Regions from separate parts of the Homo sapiens genome. Here all the other regions are linked to region 1. The links are contacts of gene promoters, found by promoter capture Hi-C in blood cells and fetal thymus (Javierre and others, 2016). All regions are on one chromosome and are shown on one strand. The core of a region is centred on a gene start or on the middle of the fragment in contact, and the rest is flanking DNA. Distances in the headings are between cores, read along the strand shown. Region 1 holds the start of DNAJC13 (DnaJ heat shock protein family (Hsp40) member C13). Region 2 overlaps PIK3R4 (phosphoinositide-3-kinase regulatory subunit 4). Region 3 holds the start of C3orf36 (chromosome 3 putative open reading frame 36). Region 4 overlaps SRPRB (SRP receptor subunit beta). Region 5 overlaps NEK11 (NIMA related kinase 11). Region 6 holds the start of TOPBP1 (DNA topoisomerase II binding protein 1). Region 7 overlaps CDV3 (CDV3 homolog).

The links. The method cuts DNA at HindIII sites, captures the fragments that hold promoters and counts their contacts. A CHiCAGO score of 5 or more calls a contact.
Region 2: a contact is called between a fragment that was not itself captured here and the fragment with the promoter of DNAJC13 in region 1, in 1 of 17 cell types (non-activated CD4 T cells). The highest score is 6.8, in non-activated CD4 T cells.
Region 3: the fragment with the promoter of C3orf36 here is called in contact with the fragment with the promoter of DNAJC13 in region 1 in 3 of 17 cell types (fetal thymus, total B cells and activated CD4 T cells); the score reaches 11.7 in fetal thymus.
Region 4: a contact is called between a fragment that was not itself captured here and the fragment with the promoter of DNAJC13 in region 1, in 1 of 17 cell types (naive CD4 T cells). The highest score is 5.0, in naive CD4 T cells.
Region 5: a contact is called between a fragment that was not itself captured here and the fragment with the promoter of DNAJC13 in region 1, in 4 of 17 cell types (naive CD8 T cells, naive CD4 T cells, total CD4 T cells and 1 more). The highest score is 8.8, in naive CD8 T cells.
Region 6: a contact is called between a fragment that was not itself captured here and the fragment with the promoter of DNAJC13 in region 1, in 8 of 17 cell types (fetal thymus, total CD8 T cells, naive CD4 T cells and 5 more). The highest score is 10.8, in fetal thymus.
Region 7: a fragment that was not itself captured here is called in contact with the fragment with the promoter of DNAJC13 in region 1 in 3 of 17 cell types (fetal thymus, naive CD4 T cells and total CD8 T cells); the score reaches 6.0 in fetal thymus.

What each region holds. Positions count from the first base shown.
Region 1 is chr3:132,415,104-132,419,520 of GRCh38, forward strand. It overlaps DNAJC13 (DnaJ heat shock protein family (Hsp40) member C13), which reads left to right and starts at 2,399. Exons shown (of 56, transcript NM_015268.4): 1 at 2,399-2,657. RefSeq lists silencers at 2,089-2,188, 2,469-2,608 and enhancers at 2,639-2,788, 2,728-3,263. The HindIII fragment of the contact is 2,245 bases long and covers 2,016-4,260 here.
Region 2 is chr3:130,737,003-130,741,419 of GRCh38, forward strand. All of the region lies in intron 2 of PIK3R4 (phosphoinositide-3-kinase regulatory subunit 4), which reads right to left. Among named protein-coding and RNA genes, the nearest start is that of PIK3R4, 7.6 kb to the right of the region's middle. The HindIII fragment of the contact is 4,950 bases long and covers 1-4,417 here.
Region 3 is chr3:133,927,203-133,931,619 of GRCh38, forward strand. It overlaps C3orf36 (chromosome 3 putative open reading frame 36), which reads right to left and starts at 2,610. Exons shown (of 1, transcript NR_161373.1): 1 at 943-2,610. RefSeq lists a silencer at 239-768. The HindIII fragment of the contact is 5,965 bases long and covers 1-4,335 here.
Region 4 is chr3:133,815,837-133,820,253 of GRCh38, forward strand. SRPRB (SRP receptor subunit beta) reads left to right here. Exons shown (of 7, transcript NM_001379313.1): 6 at 1,042-1,096; 7 at 3,717-4,417. The coding sequence ends at 3,930. Among named protein-coding and RNA genes, the nearest start is that of SRPRB, 12 kb to the left of the region's middle. The HindIII fragment of the contact is 818 bases long and covers 883-1,700 here.
Region 5 is chr3:131,038,138-131,042,554 of GRCh38, forward strand. All of the region lies in intron 3 of NEK11 (NIMA related kinase 11), which reads left to right. Among named protein-coding and RNA genes, the nearest start is that of NEK11, 13 kb to the left of the region's middle. RefSeq lists an enhancer at 4,338-4,417. The HindIII fragment of the contact is 1,428 bases long and covers 1,800-3,227 here.
Region 6 is chr3:133,660,285-133,664,701 of GRCh38, forward strand. It overlaps TOPBP1 (DNA topoisomerase II binding protein 1), which reads right to left and starts at 1,657. Exons shown (of 28, transcript NM_007027.4): 1 at 1,485-1,657; 2 at 760-850. The coding sequence starts at 843. LOC124909487 reads left to right here and starts at 942. Exons shown (of 3, transcript XM_047449438.1): 1 at 942-1,062; 2 at 1,229-1,749; 3 at 2,615-3,054. The coding sequence starts at 942. The coding sequence ends at 2,764. It also overlaps a transcript of TF not described here. RefSeq lists a silencer at 1,444-1,613 and an enhancer at 2,014-2,083. The HindIII fragment of the contact is 1,121 bases long and covers 1,784-2,904 here.
Region 7 is chr3:133,581,006-133,585,422 of GRCh38, forward strand. It overlaps CDV3 (CDV3 homolog), which reads left to right. Exons shown (of 5, transcript NM_017548.5): 3 at 2,997-3,145. Among named protein-coding and RNA genes, the nearest start is that of CDV3, 9.5 kb to the left of the region's middle. The HindIII fragment of the contact is 1,847 bases long and covers 1,746-3,592 here.

The sequences.
Region 1 (4,417 bases), core at 1,149-3,648:
AAAGGCTATTGGTGCCTAAAAGGCTGTGAAATGTATTTTTTAAAAAGCTGTGAAATATTTTAAGTGTACATCACATAATTTAGATTGTAAATTTGATACATCTGCACTATGAAAGTGTCAGAAACGCTAGTGCAAACTTTAATTATGAATAAAAAGACAAATCCAGAAAAAGAAGTGTGCATTTGTCACTCTTAAAAAAGAGTTGGGTGGGGAAAGGATCCAACTGATTTAACCTAATAGGGAAAGAAGAGACAAGTCCTACTCTCCCTGACTCTTGTATTTTGTTGTGGCATTTTAAGAAGGATCCAATTGTATGGATCCAATTAAAAGCAACCAGTGGTTGTGAAAAGGCTTGAAACTACATCTTGTGAACAATGGTTGAAAGTACTTTGAATATGGTTTCTTAAAATGAGTATCTGTAGCAGGGGTAGTTAGAAGGATATGCACGGGAGAGGGAGTGGGAAAGGGTGATAAGCTGTACTGATAAGTGCTTAAATGAATGTCACATACAAGAAGAAAAGAGCAAGAAACAAAGACAAAATAACTACTCATAGAAGAGAGTGCAAGTTGGCTGAATACAAGGAAAATGGCTTATAAAAATGCAATGGAAAAAGATGTCTTGTGAGGCAATTTTGCACTACAGAGGATGGGGACAATTCATGATGCCTAAGGCTCCTCTCAACACGAGAATTGATTTTATTGGTCTCAAATATTGAACAGAGAGGCAGTGTGGAGGTTGAACAGTTCACTGGCCTTGATGTTACAGGCAGGCCCTGTGTCTTAATCTTGGCTCAACCTTTAGGAGTTAGGTCACCTTTAGCAAGTCTCCTGGACTCTCTGGGTCTGCTGCTTCTCTAAAATCGAAATAATATACCCCACATTTACTTTTGGGATTACTGGAAGGCTTTGTAACCACATAAACACGTTTCTGTTTCCATGGGATAAGCCAATAAGGCCCCTTAACACAGCCCTCCTGTTTCTTTTTCCTCCTCCTCCCTTCCTACTCTATTTCGGGTTCTGTCTTCCCACACCCAGCTATTCCTAGTACCTTCCCTTACATGCACCTTATCTTACTGCTGCATTACAGAAAAGTCTAAGGATAAACACAAATAGTCTTTTTCCGCCCTAAGGTAGGGCAAAGGGTTAATAGAATCAAGAGGTAAAGTCTGTAAAAACCATTTTTCCACATTTTTTCATCCTGCAATCGCTGTCTATAAAATGAGCCAACTTGCTGAAGGGGACGCCAAGAAATCACAATTTCAGGACTGCCATGAAGAATGAGTATTCAACTCCTTATCAGAGACCTTTAACCCTTATACAATAATGTATCCATGCAGGTCACCCTACACTGCCTCTACTCTGAAGTCTGCAGCAGAATCACTATTTTTTTTTTAATCACTAATTTTTAAACTGTGGTCTTTACGGCTCAGATCTGGGAGTGGACATTGACCTTTCTTATTTAAACCATTGCCCACAGATAACACATAATTTCTAGCCGAATCCTTTAGTCCCAATATCCCCTCTTTTCACTGCCCTGACTTCCCTCTCAGGTGAGGTTCAGGAAGATGGTTATCTAGAGGGCACAGGTTCTGGGTTCAAATTACTTGGGTGCAAACATGAAATCCACTACTCTGAGGCTGGGCCTCAACTTATCTGCAAAACGAGGATGATTCGTATCTCAGAGAGTTGAAGATTAAGCAGCTTTAAGTAAACTTCTAAACACTTGATCCGGACACAATAAATGGGGCTACCAGAACTATCTTTCCAGCATTCCCACCTGCAAATGCCTTAGGCGTCTCTGAGAATTTGGTCTCTGAGACCTTCCAGAGCATCCATAACTTAAACCCTGCTCTGCTGTCGTTCAGGACGTCTCAATAGTAAATGAACCTGCTGGCTCCCAATCCAGCCAAACCAGGAGATAGGCTGAGGCTTCAGACTGCCTCGCAGATGCTCCATGGCACTTGACGGCAAGAGCTAAAAAGAGGTGATTTAAAACAAGATTTCCTCGGACTTAAAGCTTAAGTACCGGGTTGCGACCCTACTCTCCGCAGGACATAAGCGGAGGGGCGCGGCCCTAAGGCACACGCCGGAGGGGCGTGGTCATGGGCACCCGCCGGAGGGGCGTGGTCATGGGCACCCGCGCGCGCCCAGGGGCGTGTCCTTTTCAGCACCCACCGAGGCGCCAGCCCCCTGACGCGCTGCGTGGAATCCAAATCCCACGGCCGGTGTCGTTACTCTGCGCATGTGTAGCTGCTGGGGGCTGGCCGGAGGAAAGCAGAATTTCAGGGAAAGAACGATCGGGACGGGGAGGACGGGGAGGGCGGGGCAGAAGACGGAAGAGTTGAAATCAGCTGACTGGGTCTCGTGACAGCCTGGGCGGTGGCGACGCAGGCGTATTAGAGCGCGCTCGCTCAAAGCCTGAGCGAAGATGGCGGCCTCCAGAGTGAAACTCTGAGAGGCAGAGGGAGGAGGCGGAGGGGGCGGGGAGGCAGCGCCGCGGCGGCACCAGGAACCCGCGGCAGCGGAGCTGCAGGGCCCCGGCGGGGGAAAGGGGAAGTGGTGAGGGTGAGGAGGCCGGAGGGCGCCTCATCCCACTCTGGAAGCTGAGCCGGCGGCGGGAGGAGCTAGGGCTGGAGCCTCTCCAGCCTCCCGCGAAGGTAAAGCCGACTCCGGGCACTGGGCTCTGGGGCTCTGCCTTACTCCCTTCCCACGCCGTGGGGACTTTGTGGGGCTCAGGGCAGGGAAAACGGGGTGGTCTTGGCTGCTGCAGCCTGCAGCTGCTAAGGAAGCAGATTACCCTTCCCCCAGGCTGCTGGTCTGGTTCCTTTCGTTGGACGCCCCCCCGGCTTTGAGTGACATTAGCTCAGGGCGCTGCCCTGTCCAGCCCCACCCCTTTTTTTTGCTTGTTTTATACCTAGTACGCTCCTCCACTCGCCTTAACATATCCTTACCCCACAGGCTCTTCATTCCCTTGTGGGTTCCGCCCTCGGGATTCCCTTCCAGTCTCCTAGTCTGAGCACCCTTCCTGCTGGATGCCGGCAACTCTTGTTTCCTTGGGTCAGCGACCCTCCTTCCGAACAAGTCCTGCAGACTGACTTTCTTTGCTTTGTTTCGTTTTGTTAGGAAATGAGCATCCGCGTCGTCTGTTCTCCAGTACTTTTTCTAAAATCATTTTCTCCCCTAAGGCTTTTCCTTCCTGCAAGGCAGCTTATTCACGTGGCCTTTCCTCCGCTGCTGTGATTTTATCTTTGAATGTGGCCTTTGGAGTGGGTAAAGTAGGACTTAGACGCTCAGTGAAGTGGCTGTTAATCACTTGATACTTAACTATGTTTAAGAGTGCCTTCCCTTAAATTTTCTCCTTTTGTAGCGTGTTCCGTTAACCACGTTTGTCTTAAGATTGTTTCCTGTGTCCGTTGCTTAGAGGGGGGAAAAAAGTAAAGATTTCACCCTAATGTGGCGGTGGTCTCCCAAAGTAATTATTTCTCATTTTCCCTCTGCTTTTCCCTTTTACGTTATTCTGATTTCCCTCAAAAAGGAGGTTCTGTACCTGATGCTGTTGCGTCCTCTATGAAGGGCTTTATAGTGTACAGTTATGTTGAGCCTTTTGTAATACAGTGTCTTGGGGAAAAAAGTAGAAGTTCAGAACCTGCCCCCAGTAATTCTTTCTTACTATATTTTCTTTCTCAGTTTATGGACTTGATAGGTTTCTAGGTTTGAAACTACTGCCTGCAGGGAAAATTACAGTGATAAGGTTTTATAATATATTACCAGTACTTTGAGTTTATGGGAGTATGAAACAGAATTTGCCTTAAAAAAATAAATTTATAGAAACCACTTGTCAGAAATTCGGTATCCAGAACACAGTTCTTTGATTTTTGGAAAGTACTTTATTGGCTTATCTATCATATAACGTAAAACCTTGTTCACATTTTGTGTAATGTGAAACGCTTTTTAAGCTACTATATCTCAGACTTGGCTTGTGCTGTTAGTATCACAATGCATTCAGGCAACACACGTCCTTGTGTAGAAATTATTACATTATACTCCTTGTTTGAAAACAGGAAGTAGAACATATTAAGGGAGGAAAAGAGGAGTCAGAGGATTATTAAGAAATAAGAATGTAAAGAACCTTAAGGCTAGAGTTCAGTTCATGGAAAATATCAGCATTTGTATTCCACTGAGAGGCAATGAATATTCCTCTTTTTCTAAAGTGGTAGTAATAAATAGTCTAAAATATATTAATGTTATATATTGTTAACAAGCTTAGTTGTAAACAAAATACTTAAGCTAAAAAATAAAATATTAATAAGTGAATGAATTGTTTGGAATAATTTAACTTTATCCACAAATAAATAGAAGATGGTTGCCTTGCCCAGGTGGACTGTAACAATACTGGCTTTATTAAATTTGTTAAAAG
Region 2 (4,417 bases), core at 1,041-3,540, 1.7 Mb before region 1:
ACTGAAATCATTACATGACAGGCATTTAACAAGTCTAAAGAGATCCTTAAATAACCTCACCTCACAGCCTGTGCATTTGCTACTCCCTCTACCTAGAATGCTATTCCCCCAAGGATCCATGTGGCTTATACCTCCACCTCCTTCAGATCTTCAGGTGCTCAAATGTCACTCAGCAGTAATGCCTTTCTTGATTGCCGGTTTAAAACTGCAGGCCCCACTACCACAACTACCGCCACACCCCTCACCGGACACATTCCCTTTTCCCTTTCCTTACTGTTTTTCCCCCATAGCAACAACTTCCAGGTTATATTTTATGTACAGATGCTGCTCTATTTACAATGGGGTTAGATCCCAATAAATCAACGAAAAGTTAAAAATATTGAACGGTGGCTCATGCCTGTAATCCCACCACTTTGGGAGGCCAAGGCAGGTAGATCACTTGAGGTCAGGAGTTCGAGACCAGCCTGGCCAACACAGTGAAACCCTATCTCTACTGAAAATACAAAAAATAGCCGGGTGTGGTGGTGCACGTTTGTAATTCCAGCTACTTGGGAGGCTGAGACAGGAAAATCGCTTGAACCTGGGAGGCAGAGTTTGCAGTAAGCAGAGATCGGGCCACTACACTCCAGCCTGGGCAACAGAGCCAGACTCTGTCTCAAAAAAAGAAAAGAGAAAGAAAAAGAAATGGATTTAATACATCTAACCTGCTGAATTTTCCAGCTTAGCTTACCTTAAACATGATCAGAACACTTCCATTAGCCTACATTTGGGCAAACACATCTAACTCAAAGCCTATTTCACAATAAAGTGATTCATCTCACGTAATTTATTGAATACTGAACTGAAAGTGAAAAACAGAATGATTGTATGGGTGCTCCAAATACATTTCAACTGAATGTGTATCACTTTTGCACCATGGTAAAATCAAAAAATCATAAGCTGAACCATTGCAAAGTGGGGACAGTCTCTATGTTTCTTCTTGTCTACATGCCCACTAGAACGCAATTTACATGAGGAAGGGATTTTTCTATTTTTCTCTATTCATTGAAAAATCTCCAGCAACTAAGTTCCTAACACATAATAAACACTCAATAAATTTGTTAATTTCTCTCTGTATAGTGTCACATTTTAGAATGAAGGACTTCGAAAAACAGCTATTAAAAACACCATAAGCAACAAGGAAACAGAGGACCCGAAAAATACAATTAAAATTAACCAGCTAATGTAAGTAAGTTTCTGAGCAAGTTTAAGGTAGGGTAAGCTATGAAGTTCAATAAGTTAGGTGTATTAAATGCATTTTCTATTTATGATATTTTCAACTTCTAATCAGTTTACTGGGATGTAACTCCGTTGTAAGTTGAGGAACATAAGCACATAAAATATAATCTAGAAGTTGGTGCTGAGGCGAAAAAAACAGTAGGGAAAAACACCAACTGGATCTAACAGATATCGACAGAACACTCCACCCAACAAAAGCAGAGTACAACACACACACACTACATATATTGCCTGGCTTTGTCAGCTGTAAGAGCAAAGTGTCAAAGACAATCTAATGGCAACGAGCACTAGATAGAGGCTTCTAATATAATTCACTACACACTAAAAGAATTAGGCTTCCTTAATGGCTGGTTTGAGCACTAAGGCAGGGTAAGTACGGTATCTTATATCAAAAAGTAAAGAAATGCTTAAAAAAAAAAAAAAAGATGAGGACTGTCACAAGGACACAGGAATCAGCCTGAGAAGGCTCCTTCTCCCACTGGCCAAATCTGAGACAACTGGTGCACCAATATAATTAACAAGGTAATAAATATATACAACTGAAAAAAATTAAGAATTAGTCTATACCAATAATAAATAAATAAATAAATGGGGCAAAACAGAGGATCCTTGAGTACAGCAGAATGCTGAGGTCCTACTGTTGAATGTGGAGGACGTATTTGAGTGGAAAAATCATTTTTGCAACCATCATAACAAAAATTCAATCAGGCAAGAATCATCAATGGATGCCAAATGTCAAGCGATAAACCGTGGTAATGGGCAGGATATTAGCACACCTTTTTTTGTTTGTTTTTTTGTTTTGTTTTGTTTTTTTGAGACGGAGTCTCACTCTTTCACCCAGGCCGGACTGCAGTGGCGCTATCTCAGCTCACTGCAAGCTCCGCCTCCCTGGTTCACGCCATTCTCCTGCCTCAGCCTCCCGAGTAGCTGGGACTACAGGCGCCTGCCACCGCGCCCAGCTAATTTTTTGTATTTTTAGTAGAGACGGGGTTTCACCGTGTTAGCCAAGATGGTCTCGATCTCCTGACCTCGTGATCCACCCATCTTGGCCTCCCAAAGTGCTGGGATTACAGGCGTGAGCGACCGCGCTGGCCTTTTGTTTGTTTTTTGATACAAGGTCTCACTCTGTCACCCAGCCTGGAGTGCAGTGGTGTGATCACAGTTCACTGTAGCCTGGACCTCCTGGGCTCAGGTGATCCTCCCATCTCAGCTTCCCGGGTAGCTGGGACTACAGGTGTACACCACCACGCCCAACTAATTTTTTACATTTTTTGTAGAGACAGGGTTTCACCATATTGTCCAGGCTGGTCTTGAACTCCCAGGCTCAAGAATCTGCCCACCTCAGCCTCCCAAAGTGCTGGGATTACAAGTTTGAGCCACCACACCAAGCATATTTGCACATCTTAAAACTCTTCCCACAGGTTATTAGTTGCAAGGGATTGAAAAAAAATAAAAAACTATAGAGGGGAGACAATTTGGGAAGACTTTGACCAGATGATTAAAATTAACATCACAAACAACCATCATTTGTTTACAGATGTGACCCTGTGAAAATCCATCACCATCTATGCAGTATTCCTACTAAGTTATAACATAAATCTTATCATGAGGAAACATTAGACAAACTCAAAATGAGAAACATCCTATCAAAAAACAAAGGAGTGGGTGACATAGAGAATGCATGTAAAAGCTGGTGAAAACTGAGTAAGGGCTATACTCTAGTTAACAGTAATGCACCTATGGCAACTCCTGATTCTGATATGGTACAACAGTCATAAAAGGTCATCATTGGGGGAAGCTGGGTGAAGGATACATCACTATTCTTGCAACTTCCTTTGATTCTACAATAATTTCAAACTAAAATGTATAAAAATGATTTTGAAAAATTAAGTGGGGGGAGGCATTCTTCAAAAAATGGCAATGTGATAATAACAAAAGAAAAAAAGGCTGTAGAAATATTAAAGGAGGCTAAAGAGATATGACAACTAAATGTAATACCTGAACCCTAAACAAGGTCCTGTCCTGAAACAGGCAAAATGCTATAAGAGACATTATTGGGTCAAATACAAAATTAGAATAAAAAGTGTAATTACTGTATCAATGTTAAAATTACTGCAGCCATTAACTATATTGTGTTTTGTAACAGACTATACCTCATCTTAGAAAACACTGAAGGCCGGGCACAGTGGCTCATACCTGTAATCCCAGCACTCAGGGAGGCCAAGGGGGCGCGGATCACTTGAGGCCAGAAGTTTAAGACCAGCCTGGCCAACATGGAGAAACCCTGTCTCTACTAAAAATACAAAAAAATTAGCCAGGCATGGTGGCACATGCCTGCAATCCCAGCTACTCAGGAGGCAGCAGCATGATACCCAGGAGGTGGAAGTTGCAATGAGCCAAGATCGCGCCACTGCACTCCAGCCTGGGTGACAGAGCAAGACTCTGTCTCAAAAAATAAAAATAAATAAAAAGTAAAAAATACACACTGAAATGTTTCAGGGTAAAGGGCCATAATATATGTAACTTATTTCATAAGGTTAGGGAAAAAATGGGGCGTGAGGAAGAAGAAAACGATACCAATGATACAGCAACCAGGGCAAAATGTTAACAATAGGTGAATCTGGGTAAAGTGTATATGGGTGTTCCTTTGTTCTATTTTTATTTTTGCAAGTTTAAAAGTCTGTAAGTTTTTAAGGCTTTCAAGTTTGAAATTACAGTATTTCCAAATAAAGTCAGAAAAAAACACAGTGACATATGACTATTTATAACTAAATGGAGGTTTTATTGACTGAATTGTGTGTCAAGTGCCCCCTGCCTCCCCTCCTGCAAGTTCATATGTTTAATCTCCATACCTTAGAATCTAAGTGTATTTGTAGGCAGAGCCTTTAAGGAGTTAATTAGGGTTAAAGAGGTAATAAGGGTGTGCCCTTAATCCAATATGACTGGCGTGCTTATAAGAAAGGACACCATGTATGCTCATTCACAGAGAAAAACCCATGAGGACACAGCCAGAAGATGGCTATCTGCAAGCCAAGGAAAGAGGTCTCAGAAGAAACCAACCCTGTTAGCTTGATCTTGGACTTCCAGCCCCCAGAACTGAGAGAAAATAAATCTTGTTTCAGCCACCATCTCTATGGTA
Region 3 (4,417 bases), core at 1,360-3,859, 1.5 Mb after region 1:
CCCAGATGGTGCCAGTGACGCAGTGGGGAGGCTGACAGCTTCTGGGTGCGAATGGCCCCACAATGCGGCCGGGGACCACCCTGCTCACGGCCGGTCAGAGAGCCTGAGGAAGCCGTGTGTTCCCGCGGGCCCTCTCGGTGCCTCGTGGCACCTTACTCTCTACTCCTCTTGTTCTCTAACGTGTTTAATACACTTTCGTGCAGAAAACATAAATAGACTAAACGGTGCTTTATCGCGGGCAGTCAGAGAGGAAGTTTTCTCGAGGCTGTGTCCCGTGAGCAGGCGCCGGTGGGCTCAGCCGCCGGGCCCTCCGAGTAGGGGAAGGCGTGCGTGCGTGCGTGCGGTGGGCGCGGGGAGCCCCGCAGGCCCGAGGGCGCCCCGGCGGGGAAGCGGGCTATCGGAGGCGCGCTGAGCCGGGTGGTGGAGTCCCGCCCGGCTGGCTGTGGGGCCGCGGGGGCGTCCCGTGGGCGGGCTGGGCGTGGCGCCTCCGCGGGTGGCTTCCCCGGGCCGCGGCGGAGGGGCGGCGCCCCCTGGTGGCGGAATGCGACTCCAGGGCGCAAGGGGCCGCCCACCCCGCCTCGCCCACCCGGCGGGGGCCTCCGCGCCTTTTCTGAGAAAGCCAGAGGAAAGGAGCCGAGACCGCAGTCCCCTGGGCCCGTTTCCTCGTCTGTGGAATGGCATGATTATTGCATCTCACAGGGCTGTCGTGAAGATTCAAGGAGCAAATGTATGTAAAGCGCTTCGGATGTCTGGTACATTCTGAGCCTTCAACCCACCTGAGCTGTTGAAACTCTGGGATTCAAGCGATTCGGGTCAAAGAGGAACGGTGTGACACCTGCCTCTGTCCTTTCCAAGGTGGACTCAGGGATTGCATACGTCTCATCCAGAACCCCCAGTCTCTCTTTTGTAAGCTGGCGGTCATGAGATGTAATGAGGAAAAGGTTTAAACAAATGTTGGTCCCTATCTGGGACCTCTGAAGTCACTTTTAATGGATTTGGGGATTTTACAGATTTAAAAAGGGGTGCCTACTGTGGCCCATTTATAGACCTGTGGAGCGAAGAGAAGGAGATTAGTCACACTGGGGGCCGGAGTAGAAGCCGTTTTAAATTAGTTGCCCCGCTCTGCCTTGAGACTGAGACTTTCTGACTCTCAGTTTCACCCTTGGGTTCCAGCACCCAGATGAGAAGAGAGAGAAGGTGGAAGAGGAAGAGAGGGAGGGGATAGAGCAGCGGCCACCACCTCTCCCTGAGAGGGCGCAGAGTGGGTGGTTCCCCCCAGGTGAGCAAGGTGGGGGCCCCGTGGGTGTGCTGGGTAGGGGTGGAGTGTGCTGGGAGCACGCGGGAGGACTGCGCCTCTGCTCCTCGGGGTGTGGCGCGGCCCACTCAGGAGCCCCTTCCAGTGTAGACTCCAGGAGGGTACTCTGAGCTAGGAATGCCTTCCTGAGCGTGGTTGGTGGGGGCTCTAAGGCCATTCCTCCAGGCCCTGAGGGGGCAGAGAGACACGTGAGCACTAACCCAGGAGCCGGGACTAGGCTGAGCCCACTACTCACAGCCTGGGGTAAGCCAGCCTCAAGACCCTCCAGGATGGTCTCAGCCTGCATCCGACTGCCTCTCCTGCCTGACCACTGCGCTCCTTCACAGGCCTCTGGCCGGCGAGTTCTCAAGATGTGCAAAGGTTTCCTGCTTCCTTACCTTTGCACACCTTTGCTTATTCCTTTTGCCCAGAAAGTCTTTCCCAGCACATTTGACTCTCTTGAATTCCAGTCTCTCCCGCATGGCTAGGATCAAGCCCGTTCTCCCATCGCTCATCAAATGAACTCAGAGCATAGTACTTTGCCCTGTGTTAAGGTCTTGTCTTAGCTCTGGATTATATGTCCTTGAAGGGTAGGGACCATGTGTTTGTCACCACCTGTCCTTATACACATCAGGTAGTACATAAATCAAGGGAGGCGTGAGGGACAACTGGAAGGAGCCTCGTTTTCTCCATGTACAGGATGGGACTAGTCATAGTGGCCGCACAGGGCTGTGGGAACTCTGGTGCGATTCTGCCATGAGTCACCCCATCTCCTCCTTGCCTGCAGGGTCTCGCTCCATCAGCTGTCCTCTTGGACCCCGCAGCCTCCCCATCCTGTGGCCTTTTGCCCCAGCAAATCTCTCCTCTCTGAAGCCATCCTTTCCTTGACCCTGCATCTCTCTCAGCCACCACCCCATCTCTGCCTCCTCTGAGCAAAATCGTCTTTCCCACCTCCCCAGCCCTCTGCAGACTGCCTCGGCCTTGCCTGGGCATCATCCCCTCAGCTTCAGGGACCCACAATTGGTGCTTCCTCCATTGGGAAATCTTTCCAGACTGTGCTTCCCAACCCCGACAGCCCCGCAAAGCTGGTTTAAGTGTCCCGGTGAGCAACTGTGTCCACCTAGGTTCACTACCCACAGTAGAGGGTTTTAGTGCTCAACCATATCTGCTCTTTTCTTCTCCTGAGCACACAGAATATTCTGTTCCGCTCTTGCGGCAGCTAGGCTGGGAGCAGAGTGAAGAGCGTTACTTTGGGACAAAGCATTGCTTAGCAGTGCGGGATCTTCCAGGACTTTCTTCCCCTGCCCCATCCATCATGGCAGCTTATAATGAAATGGAGGTACCTCAGGTTCCAAACAGTCTGAGTTACTGAGACACTGGTTGGGGGGGCTCTCAGGCCAATCCTCCAGGCCCTGAGCAGGCAGAGGGGCACTACTGAGCCACTGACCTGAGAGTCACCCAGATCACCACAGGTTCTGTGAGCGAGATACCATCTTTTGTTGTGTCAAGTGACTAAGATTCGAGAGGTTTGTTACCACAGCATAGCCAAGCCTTTCCCCACTGATTTACTGATTAAAGAAGTGTTTTAAATGGGTTAATGGCTTGGTAAACTGTAAAGATCTGTGCACATTTTAGTTATTATTATTGCTGTCAAGTTGTAGCAGGGCTGGAGACATGATGTGGCTGGAGAGTGGAGGAATGGCCAGGGTATGCCATGGAGAAAAACTTCCTCTCATTTATGATTTGCCAAGGGCTTTTCCAGGATCTGTTTCCATATTTAATCTCTGATGAAAGGTTATAATGAATCTGGTGTCTGGTGCTACTGGCAGGAGATGGACCTTTCTTCCAGGTATTTACTTCCTGTGGTTGCGAAAGATAGGATGTATTTCTTCTGGATTTGCTGCAATATAATATTTTAGTATCAATTTGATACTGACTGGCTTCAGCCTCCAGCTTAACTGTATCTCTCCATCTTTGAGAGTGGTTGAATAAAATCACAATATGGCTTTGTTTCTTGAGCAAGAATCTGCTAAGCAGTCACCAGATGGAGCTGTTCCCTTGAAGGTCTGTGTGCAGGATTCTCAGGGCCTTTTCTTCTCAAAACCCTTCCCTCTTTGTCTCTTTTCTCCACAACTCTCTTTAACTCATGGTGCTATAGGGATAAATTGGCCCTGTTTAATGAATAGTTGTGATGTTGTTGCTAGTTGAATAGAAGGTAAGTAAATGAACTGTTACCTGGTTCTTTTGCCTTTGTTACCCACCTTAATGGCCCTCAAGAGATTCCCCCACTTCCCTCCCATGGGCCAGTGAACATCAGTGGGAAAAGAGGGGCCTCCCCACCATTTTAGTCCATGCTGACTCTTCAGAATGACTCAGCTGGGGCAATTGGGCTGGACCAGAGAGAAGTGGACAGCCTGGTTTGAGTCTAGACCTGGCCAGCTATTATCTATGTGAAATTGGCCACAATGGTTGCTTCCTCGGGATCAGATTCCTCACCTTTACATGGGGCATCCATCATGGAGGATCACCCCAAAGGGCTTTGGGCCAAAGGATAATTGATAGAGATACGGTATTTAGTTATCACTGTATTTGCGCTTTTTCCAAGAAGGGTAAAAGAAGGATTGAATAAAAAAGGTTCCTGCACACTCTTCCTTTTCCGGCTTTTTTGTTCAGCCCTTGAGGAGCGGGATTCTGTAGGGAGAGGGAGTGGTGCAGAGGAGTGGGCTTCCTAGGACTGGGGCCGGGAGAGGGCATAGCCGCGAGTGTGCACAGGGAGGTGGGCCTAACCCTGGGGTCTCGGCTTTGTAGGGTTTCCAGGCTCAGGTGAGAAGCAGGGCCATTAAACAGCCTCAAATGGGAAAGGGACCAAAGACCCACAATGGCACCCTTGAATGCGTAGGCATCCAAGGACCTTCAGATGGCTCTAGGAGCCAGACCCAAGCATGGTTGATATTGAATTTCCAGCCAGACAGTAGGATGGGGGGTTTGAAATCAATAACTGATTTAAAGAAATAAGTGATTTTTTTCTTTTTGCACATCCAAGCTTGTGAAGTGAGAATGTCTCTCTCAGTACTGATAAGGGCCTCATATAAATGTGAGCTCTTGGATTGTTTTTCATGCCCA
Region 4 (4,417 bases), core at 42-2,541, 1.4 Mb after region 1:
GTAAAGAACTATAAATTGAAGGATTTTTAATCTTAAAATTTATTTCTACTCCTACCTTTTCACCAGTCTTCTAACCAGAAGACCAAGGAATGATAACCAAGTGACTGCTAACTGATTTTTCTTTGATACAGTGTTTTTTCTGATTATAAATTATTTTACTTTACCAAGTTAAGTTCATCAGATTGACAATATGTGATATCAGATGCACAGTTTTGCAGGGTGGAGTTTCTGCTTTCAAACAAGTTTACTGTACAGCACATTTTATCAAGGGAAGTTTGCTGAAGTTGTTTTCTTTTAACCTGATAACCATTGAAAACTTTTCTAGTAATCCCCAATAAAACTGGGCTTCAGTTCCGTTACCTGTACAATAAGACAGACTAGTGGATCTCTTCAGGTCTCTTCCAGATCTGAAATTCTGATTCTATGAAGAGTTCAAGGCATTTCTCAGAAGTGACCAGATAATATTGATAATGCCTTATTGGGAATGCAATTAGCGTCATTACCTGACCTCTTTATTTCCCTGATTGAATATAAGGAAGGGAGTTATTGTTTATTTGCCATGGGCTTTGTGCCAAACCAGAGCTTGTTTCTTACCTTTAGTACACTTAATGCTTTAAACATACCGTCTTAGGATCAATTGGAAACATGCTAAGTTTACTTTAAAATGACAGATAGGGCACTGTCTTTTGGCATGTGAAGGCACTTCTCATAATCACAGCACTGGTAGGTTTTCTTTCTGTTAAACTGAGTAAACTTATATGTTTTGAATTGAAAGGTCTATAAGGTGTGGAGAACTTTAGGGAAAGCTAAAGTCAGTTTTAGGGTCACCAGCATAATATGTTTATAAGCATTATCTTGGGAAAGCCCCTAGTGCAAGTATAAAGCTTACTTTGATAGAGAAGGAACTAGTGATAAAAGGTCTTTTTTTAAAAAAAGAGAAAAACTTACTGGTTTAAATAGGAATTTTCCTTCTGTGTAAGAAGTCTTGGGGAAAAAACTCATTCTCGTTTAAACTACAACAGTGTCTTTATTTCTTTACAGATATTGCAATGGCAAAATCAGCAAAGTTAATTCAACAGCAGCTGGAGAAAGAACTGTAAGTGTGAAAGAGGCCTGTTGGTTAATTATATATCTTAACACTTAGACTGTAAGCAGCATATTCATGTTTCTTTTGTTTGGTTTTATGTGATTATCACAATTATAGACTGAAGATTAGTGTGATAAATATTTGTTAAATAATTTACAAAATAATGGAATCACAAAAACTTACTAGGGTGCTTATAGATATTTTAAAATTTCATGGAAAGAAGATTTTTTTGAAACCATAAACTTAATTTATTTTACCATTGTTACTAAATCATTTATAGTTGAAAGGTTTTAGAAGCTAAAAAAGTTTACATGCCAACTTGAGAACGGTGTTATTTCAGTGAGTGGAAGTGTTTGTTCACCACTCAATAATGCCTGTGAAGTGGTATTTAAGGATGCATGTAAATAATAAAAAATAAAAACTGAGAATCAGGAAAAAAGAAATTAAAACATTTAAAAGCCACTTTGGAAATTATTGTTGACAGAATAAGAACAGAACACTGAGGAAGACTACAAGTCTTTGATACTACATTATAGCTTCTTAGATTGTTAAAATACTTGGCAATATTATATATCCTGCTTTGAGTGTTTCAAGGTTTGTAAATTGAGCTATAAGCTTTTGAATTTTAAGGCATCTAGCATGTCTTCTGCGTTATGCCAATTTGTAAGAGCTAGCCAAAAGCTGGTGTAGAAGAAATGATCAACATTTATAGTAAAGCAAGTTATGTTTTCTTATTGCTTTTGTGTAAGGCCTTGAAAAGGATCTGATGAGGAAAAACTGTATAAATTCAACTTTTAGAAACTTTTCTCCCCACTATGACTTACTGACTCCCTTATTCATTTAAGAAGCACCTGTAGTGCATCTAGTGGATGCCAAGACTGCAGTTGGGAGCAGCTGTAGGAGGAAATGTGTTCCTGTACTCAGGAGCTTAGAGTCTGGTAGAATCTAGTCAGCTTCGGGCATTGGCAAACTCCTGCCTGGGCCTGCAAGCCAAGAGTAAATCGACATTTTTAAAGGGCAGGTAAAAAACAGAAGAAAAATATGCGACAAAATATTTAATTTCTGGCTCTTTGCAGAACAATTTTGCCAGCCCTGCCTATGCCATTTTCAGTGGTTCCTTTCCCGTCTGGAGCTGCGAGTTTATCACCCTGTCCTCCTGTGCTCTTGATGCTCACTCTCTTGGATTGTATCTGTTGCTGCCATTAGGTTAATAAGGACATTGGAACAATTGGATGGTTGGGTTTTTCTAAAAATTCTCTTGAAATTGTTGGGAATTGTTTTGGGGAAGCCAAAACTGTCATAATGTTATTTGTGAATCAGTCTTGGGTTATTTTTAACAGTACAGTCCAAGTCTCCCGTGGTTAAAACACATGTTTTCCATAGGCTGTTTGCTTTTCACTCTATAGACTTAGAGAAAAACAATACAGAAGCCAATCCTTTTTTAAAAGCATTGAAAGGCAATGCTTTCTTAAAAGGCAGTGAAACAAAATGTTGACAAATTGTAAAGGTTAACATCAGTTAAAATTCGGAATCTGACTAATTTTAATCTCAGATTTATGAGAATTAGGCCCTGTTAGCTTAGAGGCATTTCATAGTCTCTCAATAACACGGTATATTATATTTACATGGCCTTGTGGCAAAAGCTGAATACATGTTTTACTTTTTTCCTTAAAAAATTTTTATTGTAAAATATCTTACTTATAATAGTATATATGTCACATGCATTAAGCTTAAAAAATATTAAAATGAATACCTATGTACTCACCACCATGCCTAGAAGGCCCCTGTTTCTCCCCAAAAGCTTTTCCCTCAAGAGGTCAGCAATATCCAGTTTTGTATTGTTTTTTAAAAATACTTTTACAGTGTGTGTGTGTGTGTGTGTGTGTGTGTGTGTGTGTGTTCCTTCCTAAACAAGGTATTGCTTAGTTTTGCCTGTGGATTCTTCACTAATTTTGAAGCAACTTTACAGAACAAGAAATGCTTTATTTTGTAAGAAAGAAGATTGGCAGCATGTATTCCTCTGCTTCTGGATAGCAGAAAGGGGAAGGGGAGGCCGACAAATGAGTGTTGCTTATGCACCCTTTATTAGGGCCAGCAGGTGGCAGTAAGGGGACTTACATTGGGAAGGTTTTGGTGGTTAAAGAGGTTGGATAATAGTAATTCTGCCCTAGTTAGATATGAGAATCTGGAGTTGGTGGATTTCTAAACTCCATATCCAAATAGACTCAAGATAAAAATACATACCCTATCTACCCACACTTAACTTTCAGAAACTTATGTTTTTATAACACTTAAAGCATGTATTTTAAAAATATATTTTTAGACGGCTTCATTCAGTAGATCCTCTTAGAAGGGGGCCTTGGGCTGAAAGAAAGTTGGTGTGACCTGGTCTACTGCTGACCTGCCTTCTAGCCCTGTGAGGTCTGACCCCCCCAGCCCGCCCCACCTACCTCACCTCTCTGTCCAAGAGAGGGACTTATAAATGCAAAGGATTATTCAACAATCTTAATAGCATAATTGGCAATTCTATAGTTAAGTTTTAAATGAGTGCTGAAATGTTTAGAAACTAATATGATTTAATTGCTGTATAAAAATTTTGCCTCCTGACTTCTTTCCTTTTGCCCCACAGCAACACCTTACGAGTTACCCGTTCTGCTGCCCCCAGCACACTGGACAGTTCCAGCACTGCCCCTGCTCAGCTGGGGAAGAAAGGCAAAGAGTTTGAATTCTCACAGTTGCCCCTCAAAGTGGAGTTCCTGGAGTGCAGTGCCAAGGGTGGAAGAGGGGACGTGGGCTCTGCTGACATCCAGGACTTGGAGAAATGGCTGGCTAAAATTGCCTGAGAGGCAGCTCTAAAGCACAAGACCTGGATGTGTGACACACAGTTTTGGAAAAAGGTCTGTGGTAGTCTGGAGTTGATGAGGAAGGGGTACAAGATGTGGTTAGAAACATTTCTTTGTTCTGGAAACAAAGTACTGTTGAAACCAGCTTGGAATTTTTTTTTTTTTTTTTTTTAAGTTCAGTTCTCCCTTATGGCTGCCTTTCAAACAAGTACCTTTTATCTGATGCCTGTATCTTCCCTTTGTTAAGGTGTAACTTGATGTAGGGTCAAGGTTTTTGTGACAACAGGCAGACTCCACACAGAGAGGATATGATGAGAATATGGCCATCACCTGAAAAGTTTTCTTATCTTCTGTGCTTTTGGTCCCTGGAAACAAATCCGCCTATGTATGAAGCTAGTTGATTTCCAGTTGCACTATTTCCAGTTGCCTCTGAAGTTCACAGGCAATACATTGTCTAGTCCTTTGCGAATTTCTCTGATTTGTGGGC
Region 5 (4,417 bases), core at 1,264-3,763, 1.4 Mb before region 1:
AAAATTTTAATACTAAAATTAATATTAAAAACAGTTCAGATTCTCGGAATCTTGTGCTTAGGTTCCTCTAGGTAAATATAGAAAGAGTACATTTGAACTTGGACTTCACTTTGGGCTTTGTCAGTTCTCTGCACACAATAAGGTCAAGCCTCTGAGCTTCTGGCCATCTTATATTTAAAGTTTGGGAGATGGAATGGATAAGGAGAGAAGAAAATGCAAGGGCACATAGTTACTTTGATTAGTTTCAATCATGGTAATGAAGTCAATATTCTGAGATAAATGACTTTCCTAAGGCCGCTTTGCTGCATGTGTTAGCATAAAAGAATCCGTGTGCTTTCTATCTGGTTTTTAATATTTACAGATCAGAAATGACTAATAAAATATTAGAATGAGTAGGCTGCAGGGAAACCCTCAGTTTCTTTTTGGCTTAGGCAGGGGGCCAAAAAAGCCTCCTTTTAAGACTGAATTGCCAAGAAACATTTAGGAAGAAGACAACAGTTAGGAAGAAGGCAACAATACTCAAAAATTCTTCTTAAAAATAATTCTTTTTTCTTACATTACTGTTGTTTGAAAGAAAACAAAAGTGATGTATTTAAAATATTACAGCCGTATTAGTGTCAGCAGTAAAAGTATATTCAAATTACAATAGTATACTTGTTAGATTTTCAGACTTATTTAAATTTATCATTCCACTCTGTTCTTTCAATGTGTTGTTCTGGTGGATTTGTGAGTAGGGAAGCTAATGGTTTGGCTAACACTGAATGACATCCCATGAAATATGGAATAGCATTCTTCATTTAAATGTATGAGATAGGGGAATATCTAAGCTATTCTAGTAAATAATAGTAATAATAAATGTAATTGGATATGCTGATCCCTTTACATTGTCATTGTTGACTTCCTAAAATTTTTAAAGTGCAAGATTTTTGTGTTAAGCCTATTAAGTTATTGTATCTCATTTATTCAATAAATAAAGTATTTTAGGATGAGTGCAAAAAATGCAAGAGCAAAATTTGATGGGTGTAGTCTACCTTGTAGGTTTTTTTTCCTTCCCCTAAAAGGGCTTTTTTCATCGAGATGTTTTATAATAAAAAGTGAGCTGATTTTTAATAGAGTCCAGAGGAACCTCAATAACCAAATCCAGAATTCTTAATGGTTGATGAATATTAGAATATTCAGTCAGCTAACTTTAATTTCCTGACCCCAAAACAAGCACAACACCCTCAAGTATAATCTGTAACTAGCCCTTCTTGCTGTTGTTTCTACACAAGCAGCCTTTTGGGGAGAATATTTCCTCCAACAACTTTTGGTGCATCCGGCAGCCCAGCTCTCTTCCTGGCAGACAGCAGGCAGTTCCCTTTTACCATTGCTTACTTTAACTGGATCAGTTGAGGGAGGCATCTGTTTTACTCAGTCCTTTCCTTCTAAACCGATCTGGTTCCTTTTTGACGCATGAATGTCTCTCAAGAGTAATATAGGCAATTTTGGCCAGCACCCAACTTTATACCTATTTTGAACTGAAAATTTTAGTTGTGATATCATCCACCCTTAAGTAACTTGAAATGAGATATGTATATGACTTAAATTTAAAAGAAATGAGAAGGGGGAAAATTCTCAAGTTAAAATTAGTTTCTGGATCAATTTATTACTCTTCAACTGATTTTCCTGGGGAAAAAAGCTTAGTTGCCATAACATCCATGTTTAAATAGTGCACTTTGAGTGATGTGCATGACTTACAAGTCAACATGAGAGACAAGCAACCCTTATGTTAGTAATAGTTTCTTGGTCAGTTATTCCTAAGCTTGGTTTTTGGAAAGAGTAATTTGTAAATTTAATTAAGAGTAATTTGTACATCTATGTGGGAAATAAACATTGTTGGCACCAGAGTTCTAAAAGTAGTTTACTTCCACTAATTGTGCATTGTATAAATAATGTTATGTAGTATCAAAAATAAGCAGTTAATATTGTGTGACCTTTATTGCTTTAAAATACTGTGAAATTGAATTTCCATTCCGTAGTTTAACGAGAACACTTTTTATTTCTCAGATACTCTTATAAGCCCTAGTCCCTGCTACTCACGAATGAATAATTATGAACCTTTGACATGCTATAGAACATACTTATTAGTACAGTAGTGCTGTATTTATTTGGGTAGTTATATGAAAAAAAAAACACCCAAAGTTTTAGTTATTAAGAAAGCAAACACTAAGCCTGATGAAATGTGTGGGGGTGATGGATATGCTCATTATCATGATTGTAGAGATGGTGTCATGTTTCATGGGTATATACATATATCAAAATTTGGCAAATTATACACTTAAAATATGTGCAGTGTATTATGTCAATTGTACCTTAACAATTGTGTTTAGAAAAAGCAAAAACCCTGTACCATGATATATGAAAACCCTTAAGATTGTTAAACTGGCTGAATTTGCAGTTACTAATGATAATCATTATGAAACTTGATACTTTCAGCTGAGTGCTGCTTTTTAATCTTGGGTTCATACCAGCCAATTTTATTGTTTTTAGCTCAGAGAAAAATCATAGGCTTTGTTTTTGGTACCTTTATTGGGCAAGTGAAGAAGGAAGATCAAAATGTAGTTGATAATATTGTCCTACATACTAGGTTTCCAACTTTCTAAGAGTGGAAAATTTGGAACATTGAATTTCTGATTAGAATGTGTTTGGGTGTCAATTTTCTCAGTCTCTCCCACATGCAGCAGTCACTTAGCATTTTAATTAAAGTTTGGTTGATGTTTCCACTTCCCTATTAGTTTGAATTTTGAGAAACCCTTTAAAACCTAATCACTTAGCTATGGCTGCTTTCCTTCAGGGGAGATTCAAGGAAGATTTGTGGCCCCACAGCCCTTCATTTCCTCTCTTCTTTCTTTGCTTATGTCTTTCATCTCATAAGCCTCATACAAATGCATACACTGTGAGTTTGGGGATAATATCGGCCAATCCACTTTTTGCAATATTGGATTTGCTATTTGGTGATCAGCTGCTTTTAATTTATATTGCTATTTCAAAGACATTTTGGTGCAAAGATTATTGAGCTCTAATGAGTAGTTTCTATTATTTTTAGAATTGCTTTAGTAATCAAAATTACAGGAAGGATTAATGACAGATGTGAGTTGCAAGGCAGTTTAACATTACTTAAAAAATGAAACATTTGGGTGTTCCATATGAATTGGACCTGACACATATCTGAAATTGCATTTTAAGTAAGCTTTAAAGCAGTTGACTATTGAACTTGCAGGGAGTAAGTACATATTCAAAAGGTTTTGAAAACTGACAACAGTAGATAATTTCCCACAGATAAAGCTTATTTTGGCATTATTTTGCTAGCTCACATAACCATAAAAACTCTGTGTGTGTGTGTGTATGTGTATACATACGTAAATATATACTCACGTATATATATGTGTGTGTGTATGTGTGTGTTTAAGGTGTGTATATGTGTATGCATTTTTTAATTGGACAGTTTTTTAGTTCAACACTAGTTTCAGCAGCAAAAGTTGTGTTCAGCTGGTAATAATATCCCGTTCTGATGGATGAAGAGGCAAGGGCTCAATATTTCATAACTATACTTGGACATGAACTCAGTATTGAGTACTTGGAAGTACTCAGTGGAGACTTCTACTTTATAAAAATTCAAAAGGCGATTCCAGGGCAAGATGGCCGAATAAGAACAGCTCTGGTCTGCAGCTCCCAGCGAGATCAATGCAGAAGGTGGGTGATTTCTGCATTTCCAACTGAGGTACCTGGTTCATCTCATTGGGACTGGTTAGATGTGGGTACAGCCCACGGAGGGCGAGCAGAAGGAGGGTGGGGCGTCACCTCACCCCGGAAGTGCAAGGGGTTGGGGAGCTCCCTCCCCTAGCGAAGGGAAGCTGTGAGGGACTGTGCCATGAGGAACAGTGCATTCCAGCTCAGCCACTATACCTTTCCCACAGTCTTCACAGACCAGGAGATTCCATCAGGGGCCTACACCACAAGCGCCCTGGGTTTCAAGCACAAAACTGGGCAACCGTTTGGGCAGACACCCAGCTAGCTGCAGGTTTTTGTTTTTTGTTTTTTTTTTCCCTGTATCCCAGTGGTGCCTGGAATGCCAGCGAGACAGAACTGTTCACTCCCCTGGAAAGGGGGCTGAAGCCAGGGAGCCAAGAGGTCTTGCTCAGCGGATCCCATTCCCATGGAACCCAGCAAGCTAAGATCCACTGGCTTGAAATTCTCACAGCCAGCATGGCAGTCTGAGGTCGACCTGGGATGCTGTTGCTTGGTGGGGGGAGGGGTGTTCACCATTACTGAGGCTTGAGTAGGTGGTTTTCCCTTCACAGTATAAACAAAGCTGCCAGGAAGTTCAAACTGGGTGGAGCCTACTGCAGTGCCACAAAGCCGCTGTAGCCAGACTGTC
Region 6 (4,417 bases), core at 1,094-3,593, 1.2 Mb after region 1:
CTTAACGTGTTTTGCTTTTTTCTCTTCCTAATTTATCATGTCTGATTAGTGTCTATGTCCTCCTGCTAGAATGTAAGCTCTGAAAGAACAGAAATCTTTGCCTGTTCTCATCACTGATAAATCCCAAGTACTAGAGAAGTGCCTATCAAATCATGAACACTTCAATAAATACTTGCTGAATGAATGAAGTTTAAAAAAATCTGCTACAAATGCTTCTCAAACTTTAATGCACACTGAAGATCTTGTTAGAAATGCAGATTCTAAGTCTGGGTTGGAGGCCAAGATTCTGCATTTCGAAGAAACTTCCAGGCCATGCTGATACTGCTGGGTTCTGTGAGAAGCAAGGATCTACATCACCCCTACTATCATCCAATTATTATACTGTACATAATAAAACATAATTTTTAACAATTAACCAAAAAATTTTCAAGTATGACCAGTACACAACTGACTCAAATTTCTACAGCACGCAAAGGACCACTCTGGCTAGGAGACAAATGAAAGCAACTTAATTTCCAAGAACTGTAGGTCAGCCATATTAAACAGCAATGTGATAATAGACTTCCAGCCCCCCGAAATACATAATGATGTACTTAGATCAATTCAAAAATATGTGATAATGATATATCTGTATTAATGTAGACTATAAAATTATTATGAAAGTGAAATATCTACTTCTAAGACATAAAGCCCAACAAATCAAAAACACTTAAAAACAAGAAAATGAATTCACGGTATTAAGATGTTTTCAACTCTTACCTCGAGAGCTTTAAAAAAACATTTGGAATTGTCTGAAGACTTTAAAAACTTCACAAAAAACGGTTCTTTGTCATTTCTGGACATTTCTGAACTGTCAAAATAAAGGAACCATTAACAAGAACAAAACCACATTAGATAAAAAGTTGCATGTTTAACCTACCTATTTTTCTGTGCAGACAAGAATGCCTAAAGACAGACATTCTGGCTCTGCCCGTGAATTCGTCAACGGCATTTCTAAGAAATCCTGGAACTTGGACAAAGCCAAGGTAAAAGATGACAACACCAATCCTTGCAAATCAGACAGCAAAATTAACCCGAATTGAATACACTGAGGAAGGCCCTGCTATGAAGGCTCTAAGCCCTTTAGGCCAATGGACATTCAATTGCACTTGTTTTAAGGATACACAGAGTGTATCTGTCCCTGCGGATACCCACGGCCTGCGAGGTACGTTCATCCCTCAGTAAACAGATTTTAAATATAAACATGGAAGCCAGTTAGCATGGTCTTGGCCCTGCATAAGGCTAGATGCTCCGGTTCCCATCTCCAGGAAAAGGCCTGGCTCTGGGATCACGGAAGCCACGTCCTCTCGGCGTCAAAGGCCCACCCGCCGGCTCCAGGGCCAGTTACCAGGACAGGAAAAGAGGGTCCTGAAGGCCACAGAAGGCATCGCGAACCCCAGTTGGGGCTGGGGAGGAGCTGTGTCCCCACTCCGCGCCTCACTTACCTCGTTGGAGCCTCGGGGTCTCCGGGCGGCGAGTCGGGGGACGCGCTGGCCGCAGGGCGGTGGCTGGGGTCGGGCGCCAGCCCGGCGCACAGCCCCCTCCCCCGACTCGGCGCCGCCCCTACCCCAAAGCAAACGCTGGAGAACCCGGAAATTGCCCAGAACGGGAACCGACTTTCGCGCCAACCGCGCGGCCGCGCTTGCCTTTTCCGGTGGAAGTGACGCCATCGGCAGCTGCAGCAGAAGAGCGGAAATGTCAAACGTGGAGGTGAGCAGTCTGTGGGCGGTGGGGCTTCAGGGAAAGCTTGGGCCGGACCCTTTGGGTTTAGGGCTTTGCTGGGCGGGCCTAGTCTCCGCTGCGAGTAGGCCCAGCGCCGTCGGTTCAAGAGGTAGGACCACAGGCCAGGAATACTCCTTTACTGTTAAAAAAGCCAGGGAAAGAAAGGATTTCCTCAATAGATATTTATTTTACACCTGTCTTATACCAGGCATGCACGGGAAAAGGTATTATCCAAAACAATTCCGTGAGGCAAATAGTGGTAGTTCCATTTTGTAGATGTAAAAACGGAGGAAGTTAAATGATGGGTTCAAGGGCACACGGCTAGTAGGTGGTAGAATTAATACTGCATCCAGGTCTTCTGACTACGGACTGGGTGGTTTCCCTCCAACACAGCAGGAATAGAATCACCGCCTAACACAGCCACAAGATGGCAAGGGAAGAAAGGATGACTTATTACACAGCTAATGCAAAGGGATCTTTGTCAAGATCTTCAATGGTCTCCCCTCCTCCTCCCCTTCAGTGGACATCGCCGTTCTCTTTCTCTGCATCTGCCTCAGTACTGGGGAGATTCTGGGACTGAACCTAAGATTCAGATGGCAGAGAGCAAAGGGAGAGGGGATAAGATGGGCCTGCAAACCTTAGTGATAACCAGCGGAAAACTGATTCGTTGTTGCTTCTTTTCATTTTATTCTTTTTTAAAAAAATTTTTTCTTATTTTATAAAATCTAGCCACTATACTAATGAGGATCATTTTATTATTCACTGCTGAGATTGAGAAAATGACTTTGGATTTACTAATGTAAAAGTATAATGCCATGTCCCTTGATTGTTTTTGTTTTTCTTTTCTTTTTAGAGCCTAAAGATAGTAATGAGCAGCTTGAGTCTTAAGTTTTTGAATACACCGATGGAAGGTGACAAAGATTCTTTGCTTGGCCAAACTTTAGTCAGACTCCTCAACCTTCTCGTAGGTTTATCTGTGCATTTCCTTGGAAAATCCAGTTAGAACCCTCTACCCTCAATATCTGATCAGGTTCCTCATCCTCTACCATCCAAGGTGATGTCTGATCACCTTGACCTATTTTCAGCAAGAAACCCCTTTACTCCTGAAGTTCCTTCTTAGTAATTTTTTATCCAGTGACCCCAAGCTTTTTGTTCCTTGGCTATAAATTCCCACTTGCCCATGGTGTATTTAGAGTTGAGCCCACTCTCTCTCTCCTAATTCAGAATCCCATTGCCATGGTTGCTATACCTATCCTGATGGTCCGGAATAAAATCTGTCTTACTGTGCTTTAATAAATATCATTAATTTTTTTTTTTTTTTTTTTTTACCAGAAATGAGTCAGAATCAATTAACACTGGGGCTCAAAGGTAAAGGCCTATTGCTGGGGGAAGGGTGAAGAAAGCCTTAAAAGCAAAAAAACAAAAATCACTAGAGGTGGGAAAAAAAAGAAACCACAGTTAATTGTTAAGGTGCAAATCTGACCTGAATCTGTAATAACAATTAATATTTCTAGGGCACTTTACAGTTAACATGGGACTCCTGCTCACACTATTCCCGTTTACTCTTTTCAGCAACCCTATAATAGATGGGTATCATTGTCTCATGTTATGGAGATGGGGAAAGTGAAGTTCAGGGACTGTGTCACTTGCCCGTGCCTTTCCTGACACACCACACTGCTCCTGGGCACGTGCTGTCTGCCCATCTCTGTGTGAAGTTCCACACCGGGGAGGGAGCCCATTCCTGGCATTTCTGGGCCAAGTAGAGACCTCACAAGAGAAGGAGATTCATAGATGCTGCTAATGAAGATGAAGAAAATGCACCCTTTAGCTTTTACCCAGCCGGAACTTGATACCAGAGGAGTGACCTGTCTTTAGAGTAAGAGTTCACCACTAGGGGGCAAGTTCTCCCATCTTGTGTCTCCAGATAAGCAGAGAGGGTCTGTCTCTAGTATCTACTCCTGGAAAATGGATAAAGCAGTGGTTCTGATGTGTAGTGTCTGGACCAGCAGCATCGGCATCTCCTGGGAATTTTGGGGGAATGAAAATTCTTGGGCTCCACTTCAGACTTATTAAGTCAGGAGCACTTGGGGTAGGGCTAGCAATCTGTGCCCTTCAGGTGATTTTGGTACACATTAAAGTTTGCTTGAACAGCAGTCCTTCAGGAAAGGGTGAAATGGTTAGTATCCACGGAGGATTGATTCCAAGGCCCCCTACAGATAACAAAATCTGAAGATGCTCAAGTACCTTATATATAACCTGTGCACATACTCCCATGTACTTTTTTTTTCTTTTTTTTGAGACGGAGTCTCACTGTTGTCCAGGTTGGAGTGCAGTTGGCACAATGTCTGCTCACTGCAACCTCCACCCCCGGGGTTCAAGCGATTCTCCTGCCTCAGCCTCCCAAGTAGCTGGGGTTACAGGCGTCTGCCATCGCACCCGGCTAATTTTTGCATTTTTAGTGGAGACGGGTTTCACCTTGTTGGCCAGGCTGGTCTTTAACTCCTGACCTCGTGATCCACCTGACTCAGCCTCCCAAAGTGCTGGGATTACAGGCATAAGTCACTGCGCCTGGCCACTCCCATGTACTTTAAATAATCACTAGGTTACTTATAATACCTGATGCTATGTAAATACTATGTAAACGTTTGTTATACTG
Region 7 (4,417 bases), core at 1,419-3,918, 1.2 Mb after region 1:
TTAGACACTAGACAGTAAAAAAAAAACTTCCAGTTGAGATACTGTCACTATTCCATCAGACCAAATAGGAGTTTTTATTTAAAAGCTTTCTGTGAGGCTGGGCGTGGTGGCTCACTCCTGTAATCCCAGCACTTTGGGAGGCAGAGGTAGGAGGATCACTTGAGGCCAGGAGTTCAAGACCAGCCTGGGCAAGACCCTGTCTCTACAAAAAAATGTAAAAAAGTAAAATTAGCCAATTGTGGTGGTCTGCACCTTTAGTTCTAGCTTACTTGGGAGGCTGAGGTGGGAGTATCTCTTGAGCCCTGGAGTTGAAGATTGCAGTGAGCTAAGATTGGGCCTCTGTACTCCAGCCTGGGTGACAGAGCAAGACCCTGTCTCTAAAAATTAATTTTTAAAAATAAAAAATGATTTTTTATGTAGGTTATAAAAATAATATGCTTGTTTTTAGAAATTTTTTTGAGAAAAATGTAGAAGCATAAAGAAATATGTAAGAATTATCTGTAGTCTCTTCTATTTAGGGATAATCAGTAAATAGTGCTGATTATTATGGGGTTGTCACCTCCATTTTACATAAGAGGAAATTGAGGTATAAAGAAATGAAGTGCCATGTTCAAAGTTTCCTGGCTGGTAAGTGGCAGAGCCTGGATTTGAACCAGGAAGCCTGACTTTAGAATCTGCTCCTAATTGCTTGCTGCATGAAGAAGATAAAGTCATACATTCTAGCACCCAGAGCTACTCTATAAAACTTTTTAAAATTGTTGTAGATGTTTTTGTATTTATATTAGGTATATAGATGTTGTTTTAGTGAATTTTGGTTTATATGACATGAATACTACCTCCATGTCAGCATAGGGTTTACATTTTAAATGGCTGCATAGAATTCTCTTACATGTTAACGAAAAGGAAAACTGAGAGATGGCTTGGCTATATTTTTATTTTAAATTGCATTTTTTTCTTTCTCAGACCTCTTAGGGATGAATTGCCATATTCTCTATCCTTTTTCCTCTCAGATAAAGTTGTAAGTAAAATCTTGCTGTAAATGTAGACGAGATAAATCTGTTCTTCTTTCCACTCTTCCTCATTGTCACTCTAGCCTCCAAATTCTGCAGTCACTTCTGGTTGGTAGGTAATTCATACAATGCTGCCATTATTTTTTATTTTTTATTTTTGACACGGAGTCTCGCTCTGTCACCCAGGCTGGAGTGCAGTGGCACAGTCTTGGCCCACTACAACCTCTGCCTCCCAGGTTCACCTGATTCTCCTGCCTCAGCCTCCCAAGTAGCTAACCGGCATGTGTCACCACACCTGGCTAATTTTTGTGTTTTTAGTGGAGATGGGGTTTTGCCATGTTGGCCAGGCTGGTCTCCAACTCCTGACCTCAGGTCATCGGCCTGCCTCAGCTCCCAAAGTGCTGGGATTACAGTTGTGAGCCACTGCGCCTGGCCAGTGCCATTATTTTTGAATGGCATTTTGCCACTTACTTTTTTCCTAAGTATCTTTAAAGGAGACTGTCAAGCTAGTCAAGAACTTTGTCTTATAGCCAGCATGTGTCTTGTTTTAATAGAAATGGAAGGAAAGCATCCTTAGATATCCTTTTGCAGAAGCCAAGAGAGGCTGTGATGTTCCTAAGGTTATACAGTTAAGAGAGTCAGGGTGATGAGTAGAAGGCAAGGGACAGAGTTTTGGGAACCAGCCTTTTTTTTATAGGAAGGTGGGGAAAAGGTAGAATGGTGAAGGAGTTGAGAAGCTTGAAGACCTAGGAAAAGCCACCATTGTCATGAAAAATAATTTTATGAAAATGTTGGTAGTTTCTGCCAGGTGTATCTTCGAGGTGAAGAGTTGCAAAAAGGACGTTCGATTTAGCCATTATTGTGCTTTAATATCCCTGTTGTCAGTATCCCTTTTGTCAAGAGACAAAAGATAAATACACTTGGTAATTTAGGACATGTAAAGTTACACAAAATAATAAAAAGTAATCCAGCAAAAAGAGAAATAATCAAAGATGCCTTGGAGAAATAGATTATGACTCAAGTCAATTCAAGAATAAATTAATTAGCATTGAGAAAATACTGCAAGCAGTCTTAAGATGGTATGTTACCACTGAGGGTATCTTTTCCATTTATAACATCTGGAAAGCCAAAGACTGAGATCTTATATATTTTTTTTAAACAGGTGATAAATACATGTCTGGTGTTAGGGGCTAATTCTATCCTCTGTAAACACTGGACACAGACTTGTTTTCATCTGCTGGAATGTGAATTCTAATTCTGAGAGTATTTTATGTGCGAAAGGATTGGCAAATAAAATTATACAACTTTCAAAACTCTTCATTTGCTCACTAAAAATATGCTTACCTTAAATGCCTGTTTGTACACTTTGGTGCAAGGAAAATTTTGTAATTGTGCTCTTAATCCTTCAGCTCACCTTCTTCTCTGCATTTCAGGTTGTATCATCCTCTCTTCCCTCCCTTAGTCGCTTGAGGTGGTAACTGGGGTCTTGCTCTTATGTGGGGCTGCTATAAATGATCAGGCATATTGTCACAGAGGCACATCAGGTTTTTTTTATTTTTATTTTTTTGAGACAGTCACGCTCTGTCGCCCAGGAGGGAGTGCAGTGGCACGATCTCAGCTCACTGCAGCCTCTGCCTTCCGGGTTCAAGGGATTCTCCTGCCTCAGCTTCCCCAGTAGCTGGCATTGTAGGTGTGTGCCCCCATGCCTGGCTCATTTTTGTATTTTTAGTACAGATGGGTTTCGCCATGTTGCCCAGCCTGGTCTTGAACACCTGACCTCAGGTGGTGCACCCATCTTGGCCTCCCAAAGTCCTGGGATTACAGGTGTGAGCCACTGTACCTGGCCTCACTTTTTAAATAAGACGTTCAGTCTCGAAAGAGATTGACTTCTTCAGGGTCGTACAGATAATCATGGATAAAACTAACGATTTGGACTGAAAATTTTCTTGGTGATTCCTTAATGAATTTACATCTTTGCTTTTCCAGCAGTGAAAAGGAAGAAGACGATAATGAAAAGAGACAAGATCCAGGTGATAACTGGGAAGAAGGTGGAGGTGGTGGTGGAGGTATGGAAAAATCTTCAGGTCCCTGGAATAAAACAGCTCCAGTACAAGCACCTCCTGCTCCAGTAATTGGTAATTTTACTATTTCAGTTTCAGAAAGATGTCTAATTTATATATGATTTTATATATGGTCCACTTTCAACTAAGTGCATGATTGTGGTAGGGTGAGGAGGAGAGGCTCCTTTCCATTCCTGGTAGAGTGGGATGTGTATATATCTTGTTAAAGACTTTAAAATCCTAAATAAAAGGAATCTGGAAGTTAAAAGACATGCTTTTGTCCTGTATGTTGCTGTAAAATTTATATAGATATAGACTAGTCGATTCCAGTTTCATTTATTGGAATTGAGCATTTCTTCTAATATTCTCGTTAAATATTAACTACTTGCTAATGGAGGAAAAGGTAAGGAAAAGACTTTAATTTACTAGAATCCAAGGTCAGCTTCATTTAGGATTTTTAGTGGTAACTACCCTAGGGTTGGGTTTAACTCCAAAAGTTTTCATGAGAGAGAAAATTCCTAAAGCTTTTATCATTTAAAATATTTTTGACAGCTGAGTAAAGACAGAAAGACAAGGGGCCCTTGTCTTTCACTTGTGCTTTGTCTTTTTCATTCCCTATTTAACTTTCCTGTTCTTTGAAGCATGAATTCTCAGCAGGGCCAATTTTATCATTCTCAAGGTGGTAAAAGTTGCTTCTTATGGAATGAAGGAATCTTATACCTTAACAGTCATTTGTGGCCCACGAAAAGACTAGAATGCATAAACAGATGTATAGTATATCGCAGTATTAAAATTTCATGGAGTGGGGGGCAGTTAGGAAACAGATGTCTGAAAGGTCTCCTTAGGGCAATAATGAAAGTTTAAGAGCACTACTTTAAAGAAGTGTATACTCATTATTTTATTTAGAATGTTATAAAGAATAACATATCACTCCAAATCTTGTTATGCAGAAATCACAGATAACTACTCTATGTTAAATTTTTATTTTTATATTTTTTAGAGACAGGGTTTCACTCTGGCCCAGGCTGGAGAGCAGTCATGCAATCATGGCTCATTGCAGCCCCTCAACTGCTTGGGCTCAAGTGATCCTCCCACCCCAGCCTTCCAAGTAGACTACCGGGGCATGCCACCTGTTTATTTTATTGTAGAGATGAGATCTTAACTATGTTGCCCAGGCTAGTCTTCAACTCCTGGGTTCAAGCAATCCTCCCACCTTAGCTTCCCAAAGTGCTGGGATTGCAGGTGTGAGTCACCACACCCGGTCTTATGTTTTTAAATCATCTTTAGAATCTTTTTGTTTTGTTTGTTTTGTTTGAGACAGAGTCTGGCTCCTGACTTCAAGTGATC